Regions from separate parts of the Homo sapiens genome. Here region 2 is linked to region 1. Evidence: promoter capture Hi-C in 16 types of primary human blood cells and fetal thymus (Javierre and others, 2016). All regions are on one chromosome and are shown on one strand. Each heading gives the region's core, a stretch centred on a gene start or on the middle of the fragment in contact. The rest is flanking DNA. Distances are from core to core; before and after follow the strand shown. Region 1 holds the start of HOXA13 (homeobox A13). Region 2 has its middle 54 kb from the start of LINC03007.

What was found. The method cuts DNA at HindIII sites, captures the fragments that hold promoters and counts their contacts. A CHiCAGO score of 5 or more calls a contact.
Region 2: a contact is called between a fragment that was not itself captured here and the fragment with the promoter of HOXA13 in region 1, in 3 of 17 cell types (total B cells, naive B cells and total CD4 T cells). The highest score is 13.0, in total B cells.

Annotation. Positions count from the first base shown.
Region 1 is chr7:27,198,596-27,205,421 of GRCh38, forward strand. It overlaps HOXA13 (homeobox A13), which reads right to left and starts at 1,496. Exons shown (of 2, transcript NM_000522.5): 1 at 561-1,496. The coding sequence starts at 1,482. HOTTIP (HOXA distal transcript antisense RNA) reads left to right here and starts at 1,826. Exons shown (of 3, transcript NR_037843.3): 1 at 1,826-1,926; 2 at 2,028-4,043; 3 at 6,117-6,826. RefSeq lists enhancers at 3,843-4,367, 5,862-6,586, 6,587-6,826. The HindIII fragment of the contact is 3,899 bases long and covers 199-4,097 here.
Region 2 is chr7:25,840,718-25,846,883 of GRCh38, forward strand. No RefSeq gene overlaps it. Among named protein-coding and RNA genes, the nearest start is that of LINC03007, 54 kb to the left of the region's middle. The HindIII fragment of the contact is 154 bases long and covers 4,400-4,553 here.

The DNA of each region.
Region 1 (6,826 bases), core at 246-2,745:
TGGGGAAGGTAGTTAGTTCTGAACTGAAATGAAATCACCCAGGGCTCCAGTGACTTCCCCAACCCGGCCATCCTGCAGGAGCAGCGCGTAGGCAGCCTCGAGTGATAGCCTGGTCCAACGGCCCACACCTTAGCGCCAGGCTCAAGGTACAACACTTCTGTGCCTGCCTCCTTTCTGGGTGCCCGTCCCAATACTCGAAGCTTCTACACTGAAGCCATTTTTGAGAGAATGAATAGGGAGGGGCAATTTGGGGAGCTGTTTTCTGGTCAATTTCTCATCCTTAAATTGGTGTCAGGGGCTGGGGAGGGCGGGGCGCAGAGGGAGAGGGAAGCTAGCCGAGGTCTCCACAAGCCACCCCTCACCCAGGGAGAGCCAGGGACCAGCTCAACTCGAGGCAGTGCAGGCAGACCCAGCCAGCCATGCTCGGGCTCCCAGGGGTGCAGAGCCGCTAGGGCAGACCAGGAAGAGAACAGAAACGCACCCGGGATCGCCCGGGTGCGAGCGGAGAAGAAGCTGGAGCAGAGCCGGAAGACCAGGGCTGGGAATAGGTCGTCATTTACCGGGCAGAGTGGACTTCCAGAGGTGGGGAGGCTGCGCCTGCTCTTTGGGGCAGTACATTTGGCCGTTCCAGCCGTTGGGCAGCGCCCAGGGCTGGTAGCTTTCCATGGGAAGACCCAAGGGTTCGTGGCGCGACTCGCCGGGGCCCCCGAGGCCCGGCACCACTGGCATATCCAGGTAGCCAGGCATGGGCTGATGGTGGTGGTAAGGCCCGGCTGCGTAGCCCTGGTGGTAGAAGGCGAACTCCTTAGCGCGGGAGCTGAACTCCTCGGCAGCTGGGCCGGCGGTATCCATGTACTTGTCCGCGAAGGCGGCGGCGGCGGCGGCCGAGGCGGGCTGCGCGCACGACTTGATGGCGTTGGGGTGCGGGCCCATGCGGGCGCACGGGTAGTAGCCGCTGCCGAAGTAGCCATAGGGCAGCGCCGCGGGCCCCGACGAGCTCTGCGCCGCTGCCGAGCAGGGGCTGCATTGCTTGGCGGCCTCTGCGCCCGCCGGGCCCGCCGGGCCGGGACCTCCCGAGGACGACGCGGCGGCGGCGGCGGCGGCTGCAGCGGCAGCCGCGGCAGCAGCGGCGGCAGCCGACGGGGGCGCCTCCCCGGGGGCGCTGCTGTAGGCGGACGCGGCTCCTGGCGCCAAGGGCGCCGGGTGCGCCATCAGGTTGCGGCACTGGTTGGCCGCGGCCGCCGCCGCAGCCGCGGCCGCCGCCGCCACCGAGAAGTTGCCCCCTGCCGCCGCAGCCGCCGGGTGGGGGAAGCCCCCGCCCCCGGCCCCGGCAGCCGCCGCCGCTGCAGCCGCTGCTGCAGCCGCCGCCGCCCCTTCCATGTTCTTGTTGAGCTCGTCGGCCACCAGGCCGCCGCCGTTGTCGTAGAGAAACATGACGGTGGGCTCGATCCAGCGGGGGTGGAGGAGCACGGAGGCTGTCATAGCCCGAGCCGCATGGAGAAGACCCCAGTGGCGCTGTTTTAAAAAGCCCCCAAGAAGTGAAGAGCGCGCGGCGCGGGGCCGGGGCCCGAGCGAGGGGGGCGGATCGCGCCCCGCGGGGTCGCGCCAGGCGGCCGCCCATTGGCCCGGCCCCCCCGCTCCGCCCACGGCGTATGCAAAGCGGGCGGCTCCGACTCCAGCTCTGCACGGTGCACCCGTCGTCCCCGCCGCGGCCCGCGCCGTCCCCAGCGCCAGCCGCGCGGCCGCGCACCATTCACCCGGGGGAGAGGCGGAGGAACGTGCGGGTGGGGCAGGGAAGGAAGGCGGCCCCATCTCCGCCCCCCTTCCCTTCCTTTATCCCAGTGGGGCCCAGACCCGCGCAACCAGGCGGGGAGGGGAGGTGGGCGCGCGATTGGGTTGCGATCTGGAGCAGTGGGGACAGGTCAGGTAATTCTGCCGGCGGTCAGGGATGGGAGAGTGGGGAGGACGGGACCAGCCTAGCTCAGAATGGGTGTTTCTTGGAGCCTCTGGGACTGTTTTCTTTCCAGGAACCGGCGCGTATTTCTGCAGTGAGACCACAGGACGGACATCGGCGCCTTCGGCTTCGATGGAGTTGCGATTTTGCTCTTTCCAGGGAAACAGTGGCAGGGTGTTTGCTGCTTATCGGTTCCTGCGGATATGCCTGGGTCCCAGGACATTCCACTGGAGGCTTGGACTGCATTTAGGAGCCCCTATCCCTTCCCTGTCCACACTGTTAGTGAGCAATTTCATATGTTTGCATTTAGACCCATAGACTCAGAACGACTCATCACACACACACACAGTGTACACTGACACACTCACATTCGCACACTTAGGTATACAGCCTGATCCTTGCTCTGACCTGGTAACAACGCTTCCTCCTCCAGAGACTTTGAGATAGAGCGAGCGATCCCTGTGCACCATTCATCCATGCTCCCACCTCGCCAGTATGGCTGGCTTAGTTCTGGAAGGGGCTTAAGAGGAACAAGCCCCAGCTGTGCTTCTGGCTGGGACTTAAACCCCCCTTCTGGGCCCTAAAGCCACGCTTCTTTGTGGACCGGACCTGACTCTCCAGGAATCTGGGAACCCGCTATTTCACTCTATTTTGGGACAAGAAAAAGGGGCTCTTTGGGGCCACTTCCTGCCTTCCCCTCAAGTAGGATCTCCAGCCTGCAGAGGGTGCCTAGTCCTTCTTTGCCCAAGAACCAGTCCAAGAAGCCTTTCCTCTGTGCCTGGGAAATGCAACCTTTTCTTGGGAGCATGGTAGGGTGTTGGTGCTGAAGAACCAAGCAGCGACCCGTCTTGTAGCTGCCATGTTTTGTCGAGGGGTTCTGGGGGTCCTGCTGCTTTAGAGCCACATACTTCCACTTCCTGATTCACTACTGTGAGCTGGTCAGATGCCTAGAAGAGGAACAAGCGTTCAAAGTGAAAGTGGGCACATTACCGGAATAGTGCTGGGGAGAGTGCTGGATTCTTTTCCACCCCAGGCGGACTGGTGAGAAGCCAGGCTTGGACCTGTCCTCTGCTCCTAGCTTGCACACTCAGCCCTAAACTCAGAGCAGCACGCATACCACCCCTCACACACACCCCACCATCTGCTGTCTAAGGCCCCTGGGCTTCCTGCAGGATCCAGACCAATGTGGCTGGGCTTGGGCTTTTATCTGTCCTGATCCTGGATTTGTCCTGACCAATGTAAGTGTCGCCCAATAAAACCTTCTATGACCCCCACACCAGCCACCCCCCCACCAAGTGTGCCCTTTCCTTCTTGACTTTTTAGCAGTTCTGGGTAAATATTGATTTGCCCCCAGTTTACCTTCTCCCTGACTGGCCATTTGCAGACTCAGGAACTAGCCTCTGTAGGGACTTGATTTTTCTGTTACTTTCTGGCCGTTTCACCACCCCCCTTCCTCCCTCCAAGTGGCATTGTAAAACTCACAGTGACAAAGAGACAGAGTAGGGTTCTAGGCCCCTGTTCCTGGGGACTTGAAGGCGGTTTTACATACTGGTCAGACACGGCTGGAGGCCAAGGTCAAGTTGAAAGTTGCAGTCCAGCCAGCATGAGAACTGCCATGCGAGCGTAGAGACACAGGCAGCAGCAAAAGGCCCATTGCCCACATCCCCTCACTCTTAATTTTCTCTCTCTTTTTAAAATTCTCGCCTCTGACTCTGTTCGGCTGCCCAGAATTTTTTGGTGCCTTCGTGGGGTTTTTGGGGCGGTGTTTACCGACTCTTCTCTGCCTCCGCCCTGCTCAGCCAGGGCTTTGAGCCTCTTCGGTTTTCCGGCCAGACCCGGAAAAACGAAAACACAGCTTGGGGAGCCCCCACTAGCCGGCGCCTGTGCCAGCTCACCTCTGGCCATGGCGCAGCTGCCGGTGCACACGGCGGCCAAGGCCAGCTCCACATTCTTCCCTCCCCCTCCCACTTCACCGTAGCCCCGAACCCTGCGCGCAGAGAAAGGGTCTCAGCTCCACAGACGACTGGGTCCCTCCTCACCAAAAATGGTGAGACAAGATTTCATCTGTCGGCCGAGGAGCCACAAGCAGGTTTGTCTGAGAGGGATGGTGCTGGGGGAAGGCTTTGGATTGCATCTCAAATTAAGCTTTGCTCCTTAAATGTGGCGCTCTCGCCAAGAAAAAGCTTGGGGACTGAATTCTTGAGATTTATGGTGCACCTTATTGATCAAATTTATCTGGACTTTTTTTAGTTCCCCGATGTGTCCCTATCATTAAAAAAAAAAAAAAAAAAAAAAAACCCCTCTCAAGACATGCTTATTTAGAGGAAGGCACCCTGCTTGTTCTCTTCTTGTCTTGGATCTCAACATGTATCTTATTTTTCTACCAGACATGTCCATGGCGTCCTGGCATGCCCCACTGTTTTCAAATGTCTGCATGTCCTGTCAGTATTGAGTTGTAGCCACCAATCAGTGGAGGTCGTTTATAGAAGGAGAACGAGCTCTGAATAATTTGGGTCTGAGTTTCAGAATTTCTACTCACTTTTAAGCAAGAATAATCTTCCTTCCCTGTCTTCTGCTAAGGGAGATAAGATATTTATTAATGTTTCCCAATATGATTTCTTTCCCTGCCAGGCAGCCAACAAACTGACTTGCTGTGGCAAAAGAAAGTTTGGAGGACGATTGAGACGGGTGTGCTCTGGGAAGCAAGCACAGACCCTCCTAGCATTTTTCCTCTTTTCCCAACGGCAAGGTCAAGATTTGCTTGCCTGCCAAGGTAGTGGGTCCTGATCTTCTGAGCTGTCTGTCCCTCTGATTTTTTGTTCTCCAGGCTCAGGAATTCCTATAGGATTGCAGAGGCACCTTCAACCTGATAATTTTATATTCTCAGGCTCCTCCTGGGTTAGACTGGGGAAGCCAGGGCACCCACTAGGATCGGCCGGCAGCGGTGGCACCTTAGGCATGACAGCCAAGCAGAGGGCTGCATGAGTAGAGGTGGGAGAGGTGGGAGAGGCTGCAGTCACTTCCCAGGTACTGTCTGGTGCACTGATTTCCCCGGAGGAGCCCTGAGAGGGCAGTGCAGGCAGGACCGGAGGGTAGTTTCTGCAGCACGGCCTTTATTTCAGGAATCACCAGAGCCTTTCTCAGTGTTCCAAAATGCCTTGGCTGACAAGGCTTCTTACTTCCTGGGGTAGGCCAGGGTGCCCTGCAGGGACTGGTTGCCCAAAAACCTCTCACTGAAGAAAAAAACCGCAGCTAGGTTTTTCTGGGTGGGGAACTGGATGCCAGCCTGGTCCACGCGGCTCTGGGCTCCCAGCATTGGAGAAGAAAAGGAAAAAGGGAAACCAGGTTTTAATCGAGCTTGATTTTCATTAGCAAATGAAATTTACCTGCTCTCACTTTAACTCTGAGGAGGCTGTCAGCACTGCTCCCTGGCACTATTTCTTTGCATCCATCCAGCACTAGGATAAACATTCCTTGGTTGATTCTAAAGACACTTTGTATTTCAGGATATTCATGTGCTTTTAATGTATCCAAGCAGCTTTACAAGCCACTTTTGCAGAACATCTTAACCCTCTCTCTCCCACCCTAGGTGGGCTGGGGCACAGAGATAATGGCAAAGGAAGAAAGATCCAGAGGAAAAACTGGTTGAGGGGCTGAGGAGAGAGAAAGAGAAAAGACGAAATCGTCAAACAGTGTAGCACCTCTGAAGCCAAACTTGAGCAGATCATTTGGGAAAGGAGCAAGTGGGGGACTGCTCTGCTTATGGAGGGAATTTTGAGTGTCCCCATCAGGTAGAAGCTGTACCCTCTTTCTTAAGGGGAAAGGGTTGGTAGGTCCTGAGATCTGGGCTGAAGTTGGCCAGCGGACAGGGAAATGGTGCATCGAGTCACTCACTCAACCTTTTGTTCCAGATTTTTGTGCATTTGAAACAATAATAAGGCAGTAAAAGGCTTGAGGCTGTGGGATAGTTTTGGGCTATTGTCACTGTGGTGACCAAATGTTAACATGGTGAAAGTGGAAGTGCAAGGTCCAGGAAGATCTACAGGGACCCCCACTTTGCCTTTAAGATCCCTTCATGGGGTGGATCTCAAGGACAGCAGGTTTTTGGAGGAGCAGCTCTCCTGCTGCCTGTAGAGTTTTTTGTTTTGTTTTGTTTTTTCAGGTACCACAAAGCCACTAGTGCACAGGGACTCAGAAAAGACGGCAGGAGCCCAAGGAAAACTCCAATTTGAGTACAGCCCTGCCTTGTTTCCCCCAGAGAGTCCCTGAGCAAGGAGACCTCCACCCCACACACACCATTTCAGAACAACCAGGTTCCAGACTCCCATGAGGAGCATCTCCCACTGCAGAGCCTTGGCCAGCCGCGCCCGGACTCCTCAGAGCTGGCGCAAACTCCGTCCTCCAAAACTCGGCTCTGGGAGGCCTAAGTGACTCCGAAGCCGGCGGCAGCCGCGGCAGCGGCCGTGGTGGTGGAAGAGCTCTTTTCCCCGACAGTGCCACTGATCGCTCTTCACTGGAGCTGGAAACAGCCTTCGCGGAAAGGACCGGAGCATGCGTTAGAAGCAGAGGGAGCTTGGTGAAGGGCTCGGCTGGAAGGAGGAAACGCCTTCTCGCAGTGCGCGGCCAGCCCGCGGGGGACACCGGCTTGCTGGACTGCAGGGGCCCGTGCCACCCAGGAAGTGACCTGCGGGTCACTCAGCCGGGGCGCTGGGCGAGCGCGGGACGGCCCGGAGAATTCCGTGCGGCTGCGACGGGAAAAGGACGAGGGGTCTCTGTACCCGACGCTGCCACTGGCCCAAAGGAATTTTACCCGCGAGCGCCCACCCCACCCTAGCTTGATGCTTACGCCCGCAACAAAACAGGAAACCAGGA
Region 2 (6,166 bases), core at 3,227-5,726, 1.4 Mb before region 1:
TTTCTGTCTTGAAGCATCACAGATATCAACCATTGATATCGATCGTGGAGTTCTTCCCTACTGCTCCTGGATGCATCCTCAGGATCTTTCTCAACACTACAATCTGCTGGCTTTTCATCCAAGGCAAAGGACATCTTCTCCACATGTATAAGAGTTTTATAACATTGAGGGTAGGAAGTGACCTCTAGTGCTGGGTCTCAATTCAGCATCCATGTTGGTGACAGACCTAAACTAGGGACCTTTACAATAAAAGAGTAGAGAACATTTTGGTATATGTGCTGCCAAAGCAAGCAAGAGTATAGAACATTTTAGAGTTTTTCACCCAAGTAACTATGCTAATTTTAACAATTACAGCAAACTGGTGCCTTAAAGGTTAATTCCTTCCCAGCTATAAAGAATTCTTTCTCTAAGCAGTCCATAAAACTTAAATTTAACTATGGAATGCCAGAACAAGCATGGTTAACTTTTACTAAATCTACCTGTGGCACTGGGAGTTTTTAATGGTCATACTTAAACCAAATGTCAATCAAAAGCGTTTACACCTCCATTTAAGAATTAGCAGTTTAGATTGTAAGGCTCCAAGGGAAATAAAATTCCACCAGTTTTCCCATGATCCCTAAAGTCACAGGAGGCGGGAACTTTTAGCTAAGAACATGAGTATCTTAGAGAAGTAGAATGAGAATGATGCAGAAAAGTTTTAAAAGTTTTTATAATAAGGGAAGGGTATAGCCCTGTTTCTCTCAAGCCCAGATTTCTAGGCCTCAAAGCCCACACATATTTGTACAGCTTCTCTAGGACTACAGAATCTCCTACAAAACATTTAATTTGGTGGCTTAATATGAAAATCATCCTTCAGCATACATTAATCTAGGGTAGGGATCTGCAAACTCTTTCTGTAAAGGGCCAGATAGTAGATTATTTTCAGCTTTGCAGGCCATACAGTCTGTCCAACAGCAACTCTGCTGTTGTAGAAGGAAAGCAGCCATATACAATATATAAACAAGTGAACATGGCTGTGTTCCAATAAAACTTTATTTACAACAAGCAGGCATGGAGCTGGATTTGGGCCACGGCCACAGTTTGCTGAACCCTGGTCAGTTTGCAGAGCATCAAGCGCAGCTGAGTTGCAAACTGGTTTTCCAGATGCAGCTGCCAACTTCCACCTCACCCATGATATGAAACCTTTCCTTCTGGTGGTTCCTAACATGCCTTTGTTTTAAAATCCGAGGGGATGTTCATGTACTAATGGATACATCACTGCCTCCTCTTATTTACAAAGTATTGTGGGGACTACTGGGATTTAGCTTACTAGCAACCTCTCAGCATAAGCAGAGCCAGGAGGCTCCACTGAAAAGACTCCTAATGTACAATTAAAATGTCATCACTGGAGATGCTTTTTTGCACCCTGCACTTGAGTTTGCTGGAAAAGTTCATATTTGCCTTTTCATTCCTCACCCTGCATTCTGATGGCTTCAGGCCTTTAGCATGGGCCATATTTAAATTGTCAAGAGATGTCAACAAATTGTGAGGGACAGCCTCACACTGGCAGCAATTACTACACGGCAATAATCAATGGGAGTCTTTTGTTAGCACTGCAGACTCACCATTGACTCAGGAAGTAAGTGTCCCAGTGGTTTAAGTGAAAGCTGAAATGGACAAGCAGTTTCACCTTAGCTGCTCAAAAGCCACAGACATACGCTTGCCCCATTAATTATTCCTACCCAAAAGACAGGGGCTGTTACCGTCCACTGTCTGCTGTCTGCTAAGGAGAGGGGGTGGCCAGAGACTCACAGACATTCTATTTACGGTGCCAGGAAATGCATCCTTCTTGCTTTCCGAGAAAGGATGATTGCCTTATTCCACTGTGATTCCTTCTATAAATAGGTAAAGGTCACATGTGGAAATGGAGAGTTTTCAAACTTTGCTCATGCTTTTTGATTTCAGATATTATATTTATCTGGCACAATGACCTGATGAATTACTCTAATGTGGAAGAAATGCCCTTTGTGACCCACAACGCCCATATTGACTTGCTCTTCTGTCTTGCATTTTTAATTTTTACACTTTTCTTGCTTTAAAGTCACATGCCTTGTACAAAAAAAATCTAGAGCTGGAAGTTGAAGTAAAATCCACTCAGATCATTTTCTGACCCTAATTTCCATAAAAAATACATGTACCTACAGTCATTTTTTTCAAGGAAAATGGAGTAAAAATACCATTCCCACTTGATATCACCTTTTCTGGATTTGCCCATATTATTCACCTAGTTAAATGCCACCTCCTCCAAGAAGCCTCATCTCATGTACAAGGTACATACAATCTCTCTTGACTCTGACCTTCCATAGGAATTTCCTGCACCTCTGCAACACCCGCATTTTCAGACATGCCTTCGTGCCTTGATATGCGCATGCCTCAGCCTCACCACTTCATCCCCACCCCTCGAGAGCAGGATCCAGGTCCCGTTCATCTTCAGTCTCCACAGGGTCCGGGACAGTGCCTCAAATGATGTAAGGGCTCAATAAATGCATCATGAATAAACAAAGTAGCTCCTGCTTCTGTCTCTGAGACTCAGGGGACCACCAAAAGCAAAAATATTTGGCATTATAAGTCATGACATTATTGCATGGGTTTGCCCTGTAATGACAATTAGAAGAATGCAAAAGGCCTTGGCTTCCTTGATAAAAAGAAAAATTCAGACAAAAATTCAATGTCAGACTTTTCTATGGAGTTTATGAACAGGAGTAGATCAAAGAAAGCCTTAATGAGCTGAATTCCGGGGAGAAACTATGTTACTGCAGATAGGAAAACAGAACGCCATTTGCACAATGATCTTGAATTATCATCTTGCTTGTACACAGTAGGTTCCTACATTCAGAGCAGCCATGGATCTAAAGTCAGCTAGAAGATGGCCAAACAATGGTTCCTCTGGTCTCCTCCTCGGCAGCTCCAGCAGAGGGCCCTCTGCACACTGGGTCATTTTTCTCACCCTCTACAGCATCCTCTCAGAGGAGATTTCCCACCAAATTCCATAGGATGGAAAGCCGGCATGCTGCCTTGGGATGAGAACAGATAATGATGGATGAGGCCAGTTTCCAGTGAGACTTTCATTGAGGAAGTTTGCTTCTGAGCACTGACACTTTCTCCCCTAGATCGCTGAGTAGCGCTATTCCATGGGGGCCCCCAAGAGATGGAAAGAACATCCTGTTGGAGGAATGTTTCCCATTTAGAAACTGGCTTTGTGCAGAGGTAATTATGTCCTAAGGTAAATTTTAAATATAAGAAAGGACAGCCATTTCCATACATGAAATTACACCATTTAACTTTATAGCCATCTCTTTCCTCAAGCAGTTAAGTCAATTTTTAGATGAAGGGCTTGACTGTCTATTTTTACTACATGTAATTCGGTGTTCTGTAACTTTCACAGCTATTGCTCTTCATTGCTATGTGAAAAATCATGGCGATTATCAGGCATGTAGTTTCAGTCATTCAGTCATATCTACAGGGTCTGAGGATTTATGACAGGAGGAAGATACTTCCTTCCCAACAGGGTTTGTGGTAAATCGATTCCAGGGGCCACTGGACTGCAGGAAGTCTTTGTGATGTTTTCTGCGGTGCATGGGTTTGGCATAATCTGAATTGAGAGTTATTATTTCTGAATTGGAATGTGTATTAAAAGTTTGCCCTTCTCTGGATCAGCTCACAAATCTGTAAAATGGAAATAGCAATGTTTACTTATGTCACACGAAAAGCTGCAGGTTTCAATTGAAATTTTTATCTTATAATTATAAACTGAGACTGAGTGGTAACAGGGTATTGTTATTATAACAATAACCAAAACACCAAAAGAATGTGAAACGTGGGAATACAGGCTTTGTGTGTGTACAGATGAGATGGCTATACCCCATAGGCTTTATTCAGAGAAAAAAAATGTGAAGAGAGTGAGAAAAGACTTTTTTTCAACTAATAGAAGGTAGAAGAAAAACAGCAGTGACATAAAACTTGGCAGGGTCTTCCAGCTTCCTGGGGACCACAGGAATTTCCCCAGATTGGTCAACCTCACAAATCACATGTCTTCATCTTCCATTTCTGACAAAGTGAGTTTGACTCTGCAAGAGATTTATTCTCCAGTGATTCTAGCTATCAAAGACAGCAGTTCCTAACCTGTTTGGTTCAAAGTTTCCTCTGCAAATCTGGTAAAAATCTGTGGCTCCCAGATCCAATTAAAATTCACAAAGGTATATCTTATTAACACAACAAGTGTAATAATAACATCTAATATTGAGAGAGCACTTTGGGGCCACAGGTTGTGTTAAGTGCTTTAAGTGCATTTTCTTATTTAGTCCTCACCCTAACCCAATGCGGCAGATATTATTTTCTCCATCTTATAGATGACTGAAAAAGCTTGGAGAGGGTAAGTAACTTAGCCTTCCATGCAAAAATTTACTTACAATCATAGAGGTTCTCAGACCTTGTCCAGGCCCATCCATGGGCCATCAAACATGCACCCCAGGTTAGGAACCCTGCCCTCTGCAAGCAGAATAGCTGCACAGAAAAGCTTGTCAAGATGTCCTAAATTCAGAGCTCATCCCCAAACATACAATATGCATATGTATGTATGTATACACATGCATATATGTGTGTATAAGTATGTATGTATGAATTACTATGTCTATGAAGGAACAATTTTTATTTCTGAGGCAGCTCTCTAAAGCTGCTTAAGACTGCTGAACTATTTCATCTCTACTCAGCTCTGCTACCTGATAAGATACTAACATCACATGTTTACAGCACACTCCCACTCATCAAACAGAAACTGACCCTGGGGAGGTGTCATATAAAGCGCTACCAACCAACAGACAGGTTCACAGCTCCTCAGCCGACATTGGTAATGAATAACATATTACCCTGGGCCTTGAAGCCCCTTTCAAATCCATTACTGATGACCCTCCCTGTCACTGGGCTGATCTGGAGCTGGTGTTTAATCATAGTCCTGCAGTGACATCAGAGATCTGGCACTGGACTTTGCAGAAGGGCCTGGGGGAGAGGTAATTAATGTTGAGTGCCACTGAGGAACTCCCAAGAGCAGGCATCATGAGCCTCGTCTGCCTTTGAGCAGCCGGCATCCAGGTGAGGTGGTACAATCCGGCCAGCAGCCTGCACTGGAGAGGTTCTGAGGCTGGCTTTGAGCCATTGGGTCCACATGGGCTTGCTGAAGAGATCATCAGCATTTAATCAATCTTCCAAAGGGAAGTTCAACCTGAAGAAGTCAGCCTTCCCTTCAGGCTTCCAGGGCATCTGCTCAATGGCAAAGCAGCTTTAGAAAGAGGGTGCTGACTCTGAGGATGTGTTCCTCCCTCTTCCTTTCCAACAGTCAACGTTGAAGTCAAGATGGCAAAGCAAGAATCCCCTCTGATTGCAAGAAATTGTCAGAAGAAGCTATCCAGTCCTCTGATTGTGGGAATCTGCACCGAGCTGGCTACAGCTCTACAAAGATGAGATTTCCAGGTAACACAGAGTTGAGTTTTGTGTCATCCACATGGGCTGATTTCCCAATTTGGTGACCTGACACATGGCCAAGAGAATAAAGTGATGGGAAAAAAACTCAACTAGAAAATATCAGAGAGAAGAAACATCATGCAGTTTCTTTAAATTGTAGTGAACAAGAGAGTTAACGAAAATCAGCCATTTCATCCCATATGAAAAATAAAATATCTACAGAAAGCCAAAATACTTTTTCCAAACACCATTCTGGAGTCATTTACCACCAACCAACCTTCCAAACAAATCGGTTGTTGATTTGTTTATTTGTTACACAACCAGACACATATGGCTGATGAAAGTAATCAGATGCTGGTGGGGTGAAGACAGAACTCAAAAATAAATTGAACTGAAGAGCTAAACATACTGCAAAAAAGCTCAGGCCTCAGGCACACCTTCCAAGTTGTGTTATTCTATGCTATTCATACCACTTTCCTTATTGATATAAAACAATTTTTGTTTTCTTTTCCAGAAAGAATGCTGCCAATCGCCAGAGGCAGACATGTTTATCAGGCTGTGTATCTTGAAGTCTGACAGAAAATCTGTGGCCTTTGGTACAGCTGAAAAACACTCTGTCAACACCATGGAGAGTGCAAGCCCGTTGTGCTGGCCTCAACCCAAGGAGTGC